Linked DNA regions of Homo sapiens: region 1 is linked to region 2. Evidence: promoter capture Hi-C in human tissues and cell types (Jung and others, 2019). All regions are on one chromosome and are shown on one strand. The core of a region is centred on a gene start or on the middle of the fragment in contact, and the rest is flanking DNA. Distances in the headings are between cores, read along the strand shown.

Region 1 (6,834 bases), core at 2,222-4,721, 200 kb before region 2:
TTTATTTCCATGGCTTCAGCCTATCTGCTAGCTCTCAAAAGAAATGGAGGACTCCCTCCTTACCCTTCGTTCCCGCCTTTTCCCTGACCTTTTTTTTACCCAGCCAAGGGTTTTGTTCTCTGAAAATAAAAACCTCCATGGGATCATTTTTTGCTTAGGTCCCTTGTCATTTACTAAATGAGCTGCCCTAAATGTACTCTTTCCTTCTAACCATATCTCAAACTGTAGATCAGAACAATTTTTCTTTGTGTTAGACCTCTCTGTCCTCCTAGGAAAAACAAAACAGGATATATTTTTTATTCTATAGAGAACCCAAACCATTGTTCTGTACTCCTTATTCCCAAAACATGAGGCTTCAGGTCATTGAGACCTTGTGGTTGTAAGTTTCCGTTGTTAAAGAGTTGAAAACATTAAATGAGTTCCTGAAAAGTTGGCTTGATTTGCATGTACATTAGGCCCTAAGATGTCATCCCAGAAGGTTCTCTGTGTGTGTACTGTGTTGCTAAATTATTGATTGTGAGTTGTCTTACTTTTAACTAGTTTGTTTTTTCTTTTGCTTATGCCCATTTTGTTCTTTTGTGTCTGAACCTTGACTTTTTTTAGCCAAATAAGTGACATTTGGAGATAGCTATGTTGGTAGCAGACCGTTTGTAACCATGTAGAGCTGTTGTTTTATATGAAAGAGATTTTCTTCTTTTTGAAATCAGCATAGTACATTTTAGTTCTGCTTTTTCAAAATTAATTACTTTGATTTTATTATTGCATAAGCTTCTTTAATGGATACCCTGTAGTTTTGTTAGGCAGATTTTTTTTGAAAATTGATTATACTCTTTCAAAAATTCTTAGTTGCTAAAATAGAGTTGTTCCAGTGCATCTTTTAAAAGTTATAATCAGTGTTTATATTAAGTCTAATTTGTTCTGCCTTTTATCAAAAGTAGAATTCTTATGGATTATTATGAATTCACTTGAAAAGACTTGGTTTAAGAACTTTCCAGATTCATTGACATTTCCAATACATTATCCAGTTGATTTATCCTTAGCATACGAAAAAAGGCAAAATAATAAACAGGGATTTAGAAACTCAGTATGATCACAACTAATAGGGGAGAAATCAGAAAAACAAACATGATTGCTAGAATATTTGAAATCAAACTTTATATGATATGCTGTATCATTTATAATTTATTATAAACCCAAATACTTAGGTATTATTATCTCTCTTTTATGGATAAGGAAACCATTTATCTCGGGGTGGTCTAACTGCTTGAAAGTCAAATACAATGTAATGGAATCAAGATTTGTTCCAAGATGTAGGATTCAGCAGCCTGTGTTCTTACTATTACTTGAAATTGCCTTTCAGAAGTACTGTCAGGTCAGTTAATGAGAAATGGAACATGTACATATCTGCAGGTAAAAAGACTTGTGGCCTCATTTTTAATTGGCAAGCTGGTAAATGAGAAAAATGTAGAGATCAACAGATGAGAGGCTTCCATTTCAAAGTTTAGGTGTGAGCACATTCTGTGGTGTTCTCTTTTTGCCCCCAGTGACAGAAAAGATGTTTTTAAAGTGAGTTGATCAGTATCTGCTTTGGACCAGAAGAATTGGATCCATCAAACAAGAAATGATAAGGAAACCTTGAAAGACAGAAAACAAGCAGGGTAGGGCCAAAGAAGAAATTCCCAAATAAGAGCAAGAGAGTATTGTTGCAAAAGGCAAGAGCTGATCCAAGGCCACGCCCAGAGGTGCCTAGTACCCCCAAGCAACAAATGGAGTGACAAGTTGGATGCACTTCAGGAAGAAGCAAATTAAACCCAAAAGGAAAGACTGAGATGCAAGAAGGGGAATGATAAGTAAGAAGTTAGTGTGAATTAGTATGTGAATAACTCTAAACAAATATTTAACACTGAAGTTTTTAAAAAATAAGCTAGAACCAAATAAGGTAAATAATATGAGATGATCAAAGCTTCTGGTATTTTCACCAAATCCAGAGTACCTGAGAAACATGGTAAAACTAGCAAGAAGAAACAAGGGAAAGGAGGCAGATAATTAATGCAGGCTCAAGAAGCATCCTTGAAGAGGTAGCAGCAGCAGAGGAGTGAGAGTGTGAAGAAGCTGATGTGAGTGTATGAGACAGACACTCATAATAGAAAAGTAGCAACTGACCAGTACAGCAGTCTGTGGAGAGGCCAAGCCCAATGCCTGTTTTTATCAAAGCAATAATAGGCAGCCTGTATAATCATGTGTCATTTAGAATTATAATTATCTCAGTGAAATAAGGTTCCCCTTTATTTGCCCTAAAAAATCTTAACCAGGAAATTTTTGGAATGAAAAGGATATTTAAAAGGTGGTATTAAAAAGTCCTTCAGTTCAAAAGTTGGCAAACTTTTTCCTAGGCATACCCTTTTTGCGAAGGCATGCCTTTGCAAACTACATGGTCACTGATGTAACATTGCCATAGACAATACATAAACGGATGGGCATGGCTGCATCCCAGTAAAACTTCATATACAAAAACAAATATCCAGGCCATGTTTGCCAACCCCTGCTCTAGCTCATAAATAGTTTGGAATTTATAAGGCACATCGTTTTAAAACCCTAACCCTCAGTGGTAAGATGATGCTTCCCTAAGTGCTACAAGGTGAGTGTGTATCCTTCTGGATGCTTTTATTAGACTATGCTAGCACTTATTTTTGAAAAGATTTTTTAATGTAGCCAAACAAGAGTTTATAGGACACTTATCTGGGATATTCACTGTTCATTACTAAACTGGTCTTTCTGATTAAAATCTTAAACACTTGAATAATAGCAAGGTTGCACAAACACATTAGAAGGGGGCTAAACATGAAATCATATTCTTGAATAGTATTAGCTGATGGACTTTCCTAAGTTCAGAGTTCATTTACAGTAGTCCCCCTTTTCTGCAGTTACCCATGGTCATGGTGAGTACATTACTAAGATACTTTGTGAGAGAGACACCACATTACCATAACTTTTATTACAGTTAACTTTTATTAGCATGTTATAGTTGTTCTATTTTATTATTATTATTTCTTCCTGTGCCTAATTTATAAATTAAACTTTATCATAGGTATGTGTGTATAGGAAAAAACATAGTGCAGTCATGTGCCATATAATGACGTTTCAGTCAACAGTGTGCTTATGGAGATGCTGGTGTAAACAAACCTACCTCACTGCTGGTCATACATAATGCTTGGTAATGACTGTGTTATATGTTTATGTATTTACTATACTATGCTTTTTATTCTTATTTTAGACTAGAGTTTCTTCTACTTATTAAAAAAAAAGTTAATGTAAAAGAACTTCAGGCATGTCCTTCAGGAGGTATTCTAGAAAAAGGCATTTTTATCATACGAGTTGACAGCTCCATGTATTCTCTTGCCCCTGAAAATCTTCCAATGGGACAAGATATGGAGGTGGAAAAAGTGATATTGATGATCCTGACCCTGTGTAGGTCTAGGTCTAGGCTCGTGTTTGTGTGTATGTTAGTTTTCAACAAAAAAGTTTTAAAAAATTTTTAATTAGATAAAAACTTACAGAATAAGAATATAAAAGAAAATATTTTTCTACAGCTGTGCAGTGTACTTGTGTTTTAAGCTAAGCTTTATTACAAAACAGTCAAAATGTTAAAGACATTTAAAAGTTTATAAAGTAAAAAAGTTACAGTGAGCTAAGGTTAATTTATTGCTGAAAAAAGAAAATTTTTCTTATAAATTTAGTGTAGCCTAAGTATACAGTGTTTGTAAAGTCTATAGTAGTGTGTAGTAATGTCCTAGGCCTTCACCTTCACTCACCACTCATCTCACTCAGAACAACCTCCAGTCCTGCAGGCTTCATTGATGATGAGTGCCCTATACAGGTGTACCATTTTTATCTTTTATACTGTATTTTTACCATACCTTTTCTATGTTTAGATACACAAATACTTACCATCGTGTTACAGCTGCCTATAATATTCAGTACAGTAACATACTGGATATAGGTTTGTAGCCTAGGAGCAATAGGCTATAACATATATCCTACGTGTGTAGTAGGCCATACCATCTAGGTTTATGTAAGGACACTCTATGATGTTCACACAATGATGAAATTCCCTTGTTAAGTGACATGTGGCTGTATATATTAGGGTTCATTACTGTCTGTGGTTTCAAGGCATCCATTGGAGGTCTTGAAATATGTCTCCTACAGATAAAAGGAGACTACTATATTTTTCACAGTTACATATAATTGGACATCTTAATATAGTTTTGACAATTCTGTAAGAGAAATAATAGTAGTTTGCCTGTAGTATTAATACACTATCATGTGGCACATTTATTTTCATTTTATTTTATTTATTTATTTTTTTGAGACAGAGTCTCCCTCTGTCCCCCAGGCTGGAGTGCAATGGCGTGATCTCGGCTCACAGGTTCAGGCACTTCTCCTGCCTCAGCCTCCCAAGTAGCTGGGATTACCACACTCAGCTAATTTTTATATTTTTAGTAGAGACGGGGGTTTTGCCATGTTGACCAGGCTGGTCTCAAACTCCTGACCTCAGGTGATCCGCCTGCCTCGGCCTCCCAAAGTGCTGGGATTACAGGCGCGAGCCACCACGCCTGGCCTCATGTTGCACATTTCTAATATTAACATAATACATATAATATTGAAGATTATATTTTCTATAATACTCATTAAAATTCCATATAATGTACATAATTCCTTATAATTTTAATAAAGAACTTTAAGAAGTTCAGTATTCCTAATCCTAAGGAATACTATTTCTAAATAATCAACTATGGGGTATTGTGGGGAAATATCCTAATTATTTACTTCTTTTATCAATCATTTAAAGATGTTATATTTGCTATAATTTAGAATTTAGACAGATAAGCTTTCAGTCATTTATGCTGGTGTATTTACACTCCATGCCTTACATGGTATATACTGCTATTAAAAATGACCTCTCAATCGCCTATAGAAATACGAATTCTTATAAATAAATAGAAAAAGTTATACCCCAGCATGAGAGAATCAGAATCCCATGAGTTGAGAATTCAATGAAAGTTTCAAAACATTGCAGTTTTATTCTTAGATTACAAAAATAATCTGACAGCATACTTAATTTGTTATTATAAGCTATCATTTTGTTACTAGTGATATTTAGCACACTGAGCTATACCTGAGAGGAGAAAGCCCAAAAGAACTGCTTTTTTGTTTTCCTTTTTTTCTCTGCTTCTGTGTCAAAAGAATTTATCTCCTCAGGAAGCCAACTCTAATCTTACAACAACAACTATATATAATATACCACTGATGGTTATGCAGCGCTAATTTTAGTGACTCAGCTGTTTCAGACCACTCTGTAAGTTAACTATTCCTGGCTTGAGAACAAAGGTATACTCAACTGCATTCTTATTTAAAGGAAGTCAAAATGTTTTATGTTTTATGTATAATTGCTATAGAGATTTAAAAATACTGAAATTCAGTCTGCTGAGGAAATAGAAAAAACCATCTTGTCTGGTAACATTCATGTTTTTGATAAATGTATTTTCTGTGCTTTTTCTTTTTAATCACGTAGCCAGTTAGTAAAACTTGAATATCCCTCTCAAGTATCAGCATTGTTGACTCCTCAGGGAAGTGTCTGTGGTGCAGAATTGCTACTTGAATTGGGAATCAAATGTGTAAGATATAAGGGCTGAAAGTTAGCCCTTTTTAGCATAAGCAAATTGGCGTGCCTGCAGGCAGAACAAATATTTACTTGAATTACTATTTGTTACTTGAATTACTACCATACCTCCAATAAAATCTGAATAGCTTCAGATATTCCCCCACTCACATTTTAGGATTATTTGGAACCCCAAAATTCTGTTCCATATAACATGGTCAAGTTGGGTTTCAAAAAAGTTTTAGGACTGGTCTTCCTCAAAGAGCTCAGCAGTGCCTTACTGAATTGTCTTATTTTTAAGAAACTGTGTCATAAAGGGCCTACCAGAGTGATATATCTACAAGATTTACCCCATAAATAACTGAAGAACCAATTGTTAGACTGTTTTGATAGGTTTCACAAATCTCATACACAAGTATGCCCACGGTGTAAGTTCATTGTCGTTAACTGTTTAGCTCTTTTAGACTACAGCACATCATTTTAGCTTCTGTTAGTGATCTGTGCTATGTGCTGGGGTGCCACACACCTACACACACACAAGTTTAGTTCTCAGTTCTGCTTAATAACTCTGGGTTTGAGCAAGTTTCTTAATATCTCAGCCTAAGCTTTCTCTTCTGTAACATAGGCCTGTATTTATCACATAGAGTTGATATGAGGATAAAATAGCTCACAGTTAAATGACATTTCCTATGTACAAGTACAGTTTTGAGGGCTTTGTGTATATTAACTTATTTAATCACCGTAGTAGTCTTATAAAATATTTTTTTAATCCATTTTACCACTGGGGAAACAGAGGCACAAAATGATTTAGGAAATTTGCCCAGCATCACACAACTAGCAAGAAGGGGAATTGGAATTCAAATCCAGTCAATTTTGCTCTAGAGCCTGTGTCTGTAACCATTACATTATACTGCCTCTCAGTATAGCCAAGTACTCAAGTGAGATAATGTGTATAAGCCACTCGCTGAAATGCCGAGCACATCATGAGTTCTCAGCAAGTACAAAGACTTTAGGATTGATGTGCTTCTCAGGAAAGGAAAGACTTGCTGTAGGAATGAGGGTTCCCTGAAGAAAATTAACTTTATGAGAAGAACTTTCTTTCAAGTGTGGACATACTTTTTTGTCTGAAACTTAGGATGTACCACCTTTTAAGTAATATAACAGCGGCCGGGCAC
Region 2 (7,071 bases), core at 2,392-4,891:
AAAAATCAGTACTGTATACTAGGCCAGGCCTTCCCGAGACTTCAATCAGGCCCCTTGAGAAGCTGTAGATGTTCGCCTCCTGGTGCCAAGGTGTAGTGGTGAGAGAGAAGGCCTGACTCATCATCTTAGGAAATGAAATTAGTTACAAACACATTCATTCCCAGCCCAAGTCCAAAAGCTAATCCTCACCCCAGTTTAGTAATTAGCAGGTGACAATTTGGAGATTTGAGCCTACAGATTCGAAAAGTCTGGGACTGGAGGCCAAAATGGTGATTTCTGGTCCTGGATTCCCCATGGCCTGGCAAGCCACGTCCATCGTCCTCACTCACAAGAGTGTCGGCAGGACAGCAGGGAGGCCTGAGTCTTCTTGGCTTCAGCATCAATCAACAAGTATTCAATGGGCAACTGCAGGGTGCTTGCTACCCCGTGCTAGGTCCTTTGGGCAATCCTTGCAGATTTACAAAGTACAAAAAGAAAACATTACACCAGAAGCAAAGATAGTTAGAGCCAGTAAGACTAATCTGATGAGTAGAGGCCATTGTGTGTTGGAGCCAGCTCTTACGGACTTCCTGAGAGCCGATTGTTAATATTTCAGAAACTTTGCAAGCCACTTGTTAAAGTATCAGTAGCTTGAAATCAGCCATGAGTATTTTCACCAGGGGAATTGGCAGGCACTACAAATGAAAGTTTCTCCCCACCCCTCTAGAACTGGTTTACCAGCACTCCAATAAGGAGTTCCTAAAATATAAGGCTTTAAGGCAAGCGAGGGGAGTGGTTTTGCATGCGGGCTCTGAAATCACATAGATTTCTCTGAGCCTGTTTCTTCATGTGTATAGAGCTCACATATATTCAATGCTTACTATGTACCGGATATTATTCTCAACATTTATACGTATTAATGCATTGATACGAGTTAGTGGGTGCAGCGCACCAGCATGGCACATGTATACATATGTAACTAACCTGCACATTGTGAACGTGTACCCTAAAACTTAAAGTATAATAATTAAAAAAAAAAGAAATTACAAGTTAAAGTGCTGCAGCATAAAGAAGAAAAATAATCATTTATGCCATTTTTAATACAGAACCTATTTCCAAATCAAAACCCTTTACACTTGGAATATTGTCAAATCTCAAATTTTTACCTGGCTGAGATCTACGACCACCTTTTGAAACAGAGACAGTGTAGGTATGATTACTCCCTGTATACTCAAGGGTTAGGAAAATGGAAAAGAACCGTGAGCCCCTCAAGAATGGTGGCTTTTCTTATTGGAATGAAGTAAATAAAATAAATTCATCAGCAATGCATTTAATTTCTCTCTTAGCAATTAATTGTGTATCTACATTGAATGATAACTGTGTAAACAGTCAAGATATGCATGTGGCAAATGAAAAATAAAGCAAAATGTTTTATCTTAAAAAAAAATGCATTGATTCCTTGAAACAACCCTATGAGAGGAAATTATTATTGTCCCCATTCTATAGATGAAGAAAATCAAGCCCAAGAGAGATGAGGGAACTCCACCAATATCACACAGCTAGTCAGTGGCACAGCTGGGATACAAAGACAGGCATCTTGCCCCAGAGCCTGCCCTCTCACCTTCTAGCTCTGCACTGCCCGATACAGGAGCCACTGGCTGCATGGAGCTATCAGGTACTTGAAACAGGGCTGGTGTGACTTGAGAAGTGCTATAAGTGTGAAATACACATTAGATTTCAAAGACCTCATGTAAATATTATATATATATATATAAAATATCTTGCTAATACTATATCACTTACTTGTAGAAATGATAATATCTTGGATATATTGAATTAAATGAAAGATATTATTACTATTCATTGCACTTGTTTCTTTTTACTTTTTCTATTTTTTATTTTTTTGAGATGGAGTTTCACTCGTGTTGCCCAGGCTAGAGTGCAGTGGCACCATCTCGCCTCACCACAACCTTCACCTCGCAGGCTCAAGAGACTCTCCTGCCTCAGCCTCTCGAGTAGCTGGGATTACAGGTGTGCACCACCATGCCCGGCTAATTTTTGTATTTTTAGGAGAGACGAGGTTTTGCCATGTTGGCCAGGCTGGTCACGAACTCCTGACCTCAGGTGATCCGCCTGCCTCGGCCTCCCAAAGTGCTAGGATTACAGGCGTGAGCCACTGCACCCAGCCTCTTTTTACTTTTTTTTAGTATGAGTTGTAGAAAATGTTAAGTGACGTTTGTGATTCACGTTACATTTCTGTTGGAGAGTGCTGCTGGCTAGTGCCCTAACCTCCTAGTTCGGTGGATGCATTAAATCAGTTAATGCAAGGAGGGCACCTAGCACGCTGTCTGAAGCAAATTAAGCACCTAATAGCTATTATTAATATTAGTGAGCGTACTGGTTTTCAAATGTTGTAGTCTAGTATTTTTTCCCCCAAAAAAACTGGTTGTTTTTTTTTTAATTTTTTTAAGAGGAAAGTTCTTACTCTGTCACCCAGGCTGGAGTAGAGTGTTGTGATCATAGCTCACTGCAGCCTTGAACTCCTGGGCCTAAACAATCCTTCTGCCTCAGCCACCTGAGTGACTAGGACTACAGGCACATGCCACCACGCCCAGCTAATTTTTTAATTTTTTGTAGAGACAGGGTCTATTTTCTCTAGGTTGGTCTTGAACTTCTGGCCTCAAGCAATTCCCCCACTTCGGCCTCCCAAAGTGTTGGGATTACAGGCGTGAACCACCATGCCCGGCTCCCAAACAACTTCTTATAGCAGATAAAAGAGGAGCTTTTGCAGTAGAGTAGAGCTTTGAGGAGCCCTCTTGGGGAGCCCATTCACCCTGGGCACCACCTCCACAAACTGGAAAACCCACAGGATGACATAATCTTTAAGTGTCCTTCAAGCTTTAGCATTCCCTATCATTTCAGAGAAGTTGAGGAAGTGATTGGGAAAGAATTAAGGTGTCTATGGCAGTATATTACAACGACTATGGAAAAACACTCCCATTTTGCTTGGGAAAATCAAAGTGGCTTGGCCCCAGGTCTAGGCACAGCCCAGAAATGGGAGCATCACCAATGTGAGTTGTGGGGCTTGGCCCCAGGTCTAGGCACAGCCCAGAAATGGGAGCATCACCAATGTGAGTTGGGGGTCCCCGTGGGCTCCTGGATCATTACCTACGCACGTTCACACAGACAATACCGATGCACCATGTCACCTCTCCACTTCGGCTCGGTCACAACCTGCCAACTCCCCACCCACCCAGAACCTGGGCAGACCAGACACAGGCTCTAGGCGCCAATGTCCTAGTCTAGCTCCAGGGCCAGGCAACAGTGACACTCAGCCCAGGCACCACAATGATTTTGCTGTCCTGAAGGCAACTTAGGCTCAACCAGCCCTGGTGTCTGCCAGGCAGGCTCCCAACTCTGCCTCCAGCCCTCGCCCCTGGCTCTGGTATCGTATGTGTGGACGGGGAGAGCAGCCAACTCTTCGCCGGGCTCTCTAACAAGTTCCGCGGGTCTGTTTGTTAAAGAAAAATTCCAGTGGGTGCATCCAACACATGGAACTCAAGTACAGAAATTATATTTATCCGCCCCACTGCCAAGGAGATCACATGCCCCGTGAGTCACTCCAGATGTGCTCAAAAACAGAGTCTCTCTGTGGAAGGCCAGTTCCCCAATCCCAGAGAGCGTCAAATGAAGAGAGGTACCGACTCCTGTCCCACCCAGGACGCAGCCTTCAGCCTCCAGCCTTCTGAGGCAGAGTAGGCATTTCTGCACGTCTGCAAAAGGAAGGGAGGGAAGCACTCCATCATCTCACTGGGAAGAACGGCACGGGCATACCTGCAGCTACTGGGGTTCCACTGGGCTTGAGGGTCGATTTTTCACCTTTTGAAGGACAAGATGCATTGGAAGATGTTGCTGCTTCTGCTGTTGTATTACAATGCTGAGGCTTCTATGTGCCACAGGTGGAGCAGGGGTGAGTTGCTTTTTATTCATTTGTTTGTTTGATGCTCATTATACTTTCTTCAATGCAATTCAAAATTTGGAGGGAAGGACATTAGAAGCCCCGCACTCTCCTTTTGTCTAATCTCTGTCAATTCCTTGATGCTTCTTGACGTGTTCCCCCTTCTTAGAGGGTGATGGGGAAATGACACTGGAAAAAATCAAAGCTCCTGAGGGAATTAGGTTGAGGTGGAGAACCCAGAGAGTACCCCTTTCTGGCATCCCAGAGAGAACTCATTTCTGCTTCATAGAAAGTAGAACTCATTTCTTCGACTGCCCCCACCACCTGCAGCAGTTGGGCCAGACCGTCTGGAGAGCAGGTGCTGAGACCTGCTGCTAAAATGATGGAGTGATGGGCACTGGGATGCCAAAGGCCTGCTCCCTGGGGGAACCAGAGCAGAAGCTCTGCAGAACGTTGCCTCCTCACCGGGAGGGGATGCATCTCTGCAGCCAGAGGTGGGCAGGTGAGGAGAGCAACCCTTCAACCTCCACTGCACCCACCAGCTCCGCCACCTCCTCACAAAGGAAGGGGCCCCAGCAAAGGCTGTTCTCTTATCACTGACTTCCTCCCCCTCAGGATGTAGTTCCTCCTAGCTGGATGGCATCTTTTCTCCATTTCCCTGGGAGTGGCTCTGCTTGGTAGACACTGGGAGCACCTCGAGCCAGAGTTTATCACTGTTAGGAAAGGAGGGACCCACGGCACTGCCCACTCTTCACCAATATGAACGGAAATCTTTCCACTGCCTAAAGTCAACTGAGTTCACTCTCCTAGAAAGAACCGCAAGAAGAACAGGCTCCTTCAAGTCAGGCCAGTAGGTGTTTCTAGAGATGCAAAATTGGAAGGCAACTGGCATGGTGGCATGGATGCGCCTCCTGCTTGCTTCTCAAGGACAGTGTCAGGGAAGGAAGGAGTGGCCGGAGTGGGGATAGAGCAGCGCGAGAGAAGGATCTGAAATGGGAGGGAGGCAAAAGCTACTGTACTTATGCTGGGTTTTATTTCCTCATGGTTAAACGTGACATTAGGGACTTACATCTCTAACAGGGATATAAGTCTTTTGAGCTGAGCTGTGAAGTGATCGTTGCCCAGAAACAAATAATACAGCATTCTTCATTTTTCTCATAACAACCTTGCATACACATGCACATACACACGTACACCCCTCCCTTTTCTTTTTTTAATTTTTAATTTTTAATTTCTGTGGGCACATAGTAGGTATACATATTTATGGGGCCTATGAGATGTTTTGATACAGGCACGTCACATCATGGAAGATGGGGTATCCATCCCCTCAAGCATTTAGCCTTTGTGTTACAAACAATCCAGTGATACCCTTTTAGTTACTTTTATTTGTTATTTATTTACTTATTTATTTATTTTTGAGACGGAGTCTCACTCTGTTGCCCAGGCTGGAATGCAGGGGTGCAATCTTGGTTCACTGCAACCTCCGCCTCCCAGGTTCAAGCGATTCTCGTGCCTCAGTCTCCTGAGTAGCTGGAGTTACAGGTGCGCACCACCACGCCTGGCTAATTTTTGTATTTTTAGTAGAGATGGGGTTTCACCATGTTGGCCAGGCTGCTCTCAAACTCCTGACCTCAAGTGATCTGCCCACCTCAGCCTCCCAAAGTTCTGGGATTATAGGCATGAGCCATAGTGCCTGGCCCTCTTTTAGTTCTTTTTAAATGTACAATTAAATTGTTATTGACTGTAGTCACCCTGTTTTCACACCTCCCTTTTCATTGTGTGCACAAACTTTGAGGTAGCACTTGGAAGTAAAAAGCAAAGAGATCTTGGAGTTGGGTTCTGTCACTCCCCTCTTTGTCACACTGGGGATTTGCTTATTAAACAGGGTAACAGTGCCCACTCTTCCTAAGGCACAGGCTATTACAAAGCCAAAAGGGATTATTTGACTTGCAATATGGTTTGTAAACACGATAGCCACATCATGAGCTACTCTGCAAGGGTCCTGGTTTAAGTTCCATCTCTATTTGGCAATGTGATCTCAGACAAGTCTCTTAACCTCTCTGAGCTTTAGTTCACTAACGGGTGACATTAACATCCATCACATCAATAAAACCCTCATGCTATTACTGTGAGGGTCATATTCAAAAATATAGATGAAAATACTTTGTAAATGACAAAGCACAATATAAATATTAGCTATTGCCTACCAGTTTTTGAAAAATAAAAATTTTTCATTAAAGGAAGTTTAAGGCTCTTAACAGGGGAATCTACAGCAACATTCTGGGAGCAACTTCTCCGGGCCATGTCCTTCCGCATTGGGGAAGGTCTTTCCACAGTGAGTTCACAATCCACTGACTCAAAGCCAGCCAAACCGAGGTCACTATGAGGCAGCGGATGTGACGTGCTAGATTAATGGCTCAAGTCAGCGCTGAGTCAACAAATGATACAGAGTCCCTCCAACCATCATCAAATGTCTTCCGCGTAGTTGATTTTTTTTTCATTTTTAACATTTTTTTCTAATTATAAAAGAAATACACAATTCTTGCCATCTTTTTTTTCAAGACTGAATAGGAGTCACACCCAAATGAGTAAGTTTTTCCAAATGTATTATTCATTTCACCTTCATCCTTACCCCCACCCTACCTCCAGCCTCAATTCAAAGTACTCCCTTTGGAAACAGTCTTAGGGCAATCTCTTCCAGAGCTTTTCCTCTTCCACCCCCTGCCCTTTGGCCCCCAGCCCCACCACTACCCCGTGTCCATCCTCCCACCCTCCTGCTCCAAAATGTAAATGTAGATGTAAACCCACAGGCAATATGCGCCTTGTTGTTAGCACTGTCTTTTTCCTACCATCCTCCCAGCCTTTCCCTAAGCGCTCTCTAGGATTCCACCCTGGGAGGCAGCTTTCCATGCCAGGATCCAGGATCACCCATTCCAGCCCCACCAGTTTGATGAAGACCAAATGACTCACCTGTGGCCAAGCCAGGAAAGCCACATCTACACACACACACACATACACACACACAGAAACACACACACACACACACAGGTGGCCCACGTCCCAGCACATACCAGGTCCTGCCAGGGCACCACTGGAAGGGGGAGGACTAGCCAGACTTGAGAAAGAATTATGCA

Evidence for each region. Contacts are between HindIII fragments. The study calls those that stand out against the background at their distance.
Region 1: a contact is called between a fragment that was not itself captured here and the fragment with the promoter of FAM180A in region 2, in 4 of the 25 tissues and cell types used here (bladder, mesenchymal stem cells, spleen and 1 more).

The regions. Positions count from the first base shown.
Region 1 is chr7:135,942,179-135,949,012 of GRCh38, reverse strand. The region is part of intron 3 of MTPN (myotrophin); the gene reads left to right. Among named protein-coding and RNA genes, the nearest start is that of MTPN, 32 kb to the left of the region's middle. The HindIII fragment of the contact is 4,210 bases long and covers 1,367-5,576 here.
Region 2 is chr7:135,745,383-135,752,453 of GRCh38, reverse strand. FAM180A (family with sequence similarity 180 member A) reads left to right here and starts at 3,641. Exons shown (of 4, transcript NM_205855.4): 1 at 3,641-3,949. The coding sequence starts at 3,874. RefSeq lists an enhancer at 6,004-7,071. The HindIII fragment of the contact is 9,123 bases long and covers 1,098-7,071 here.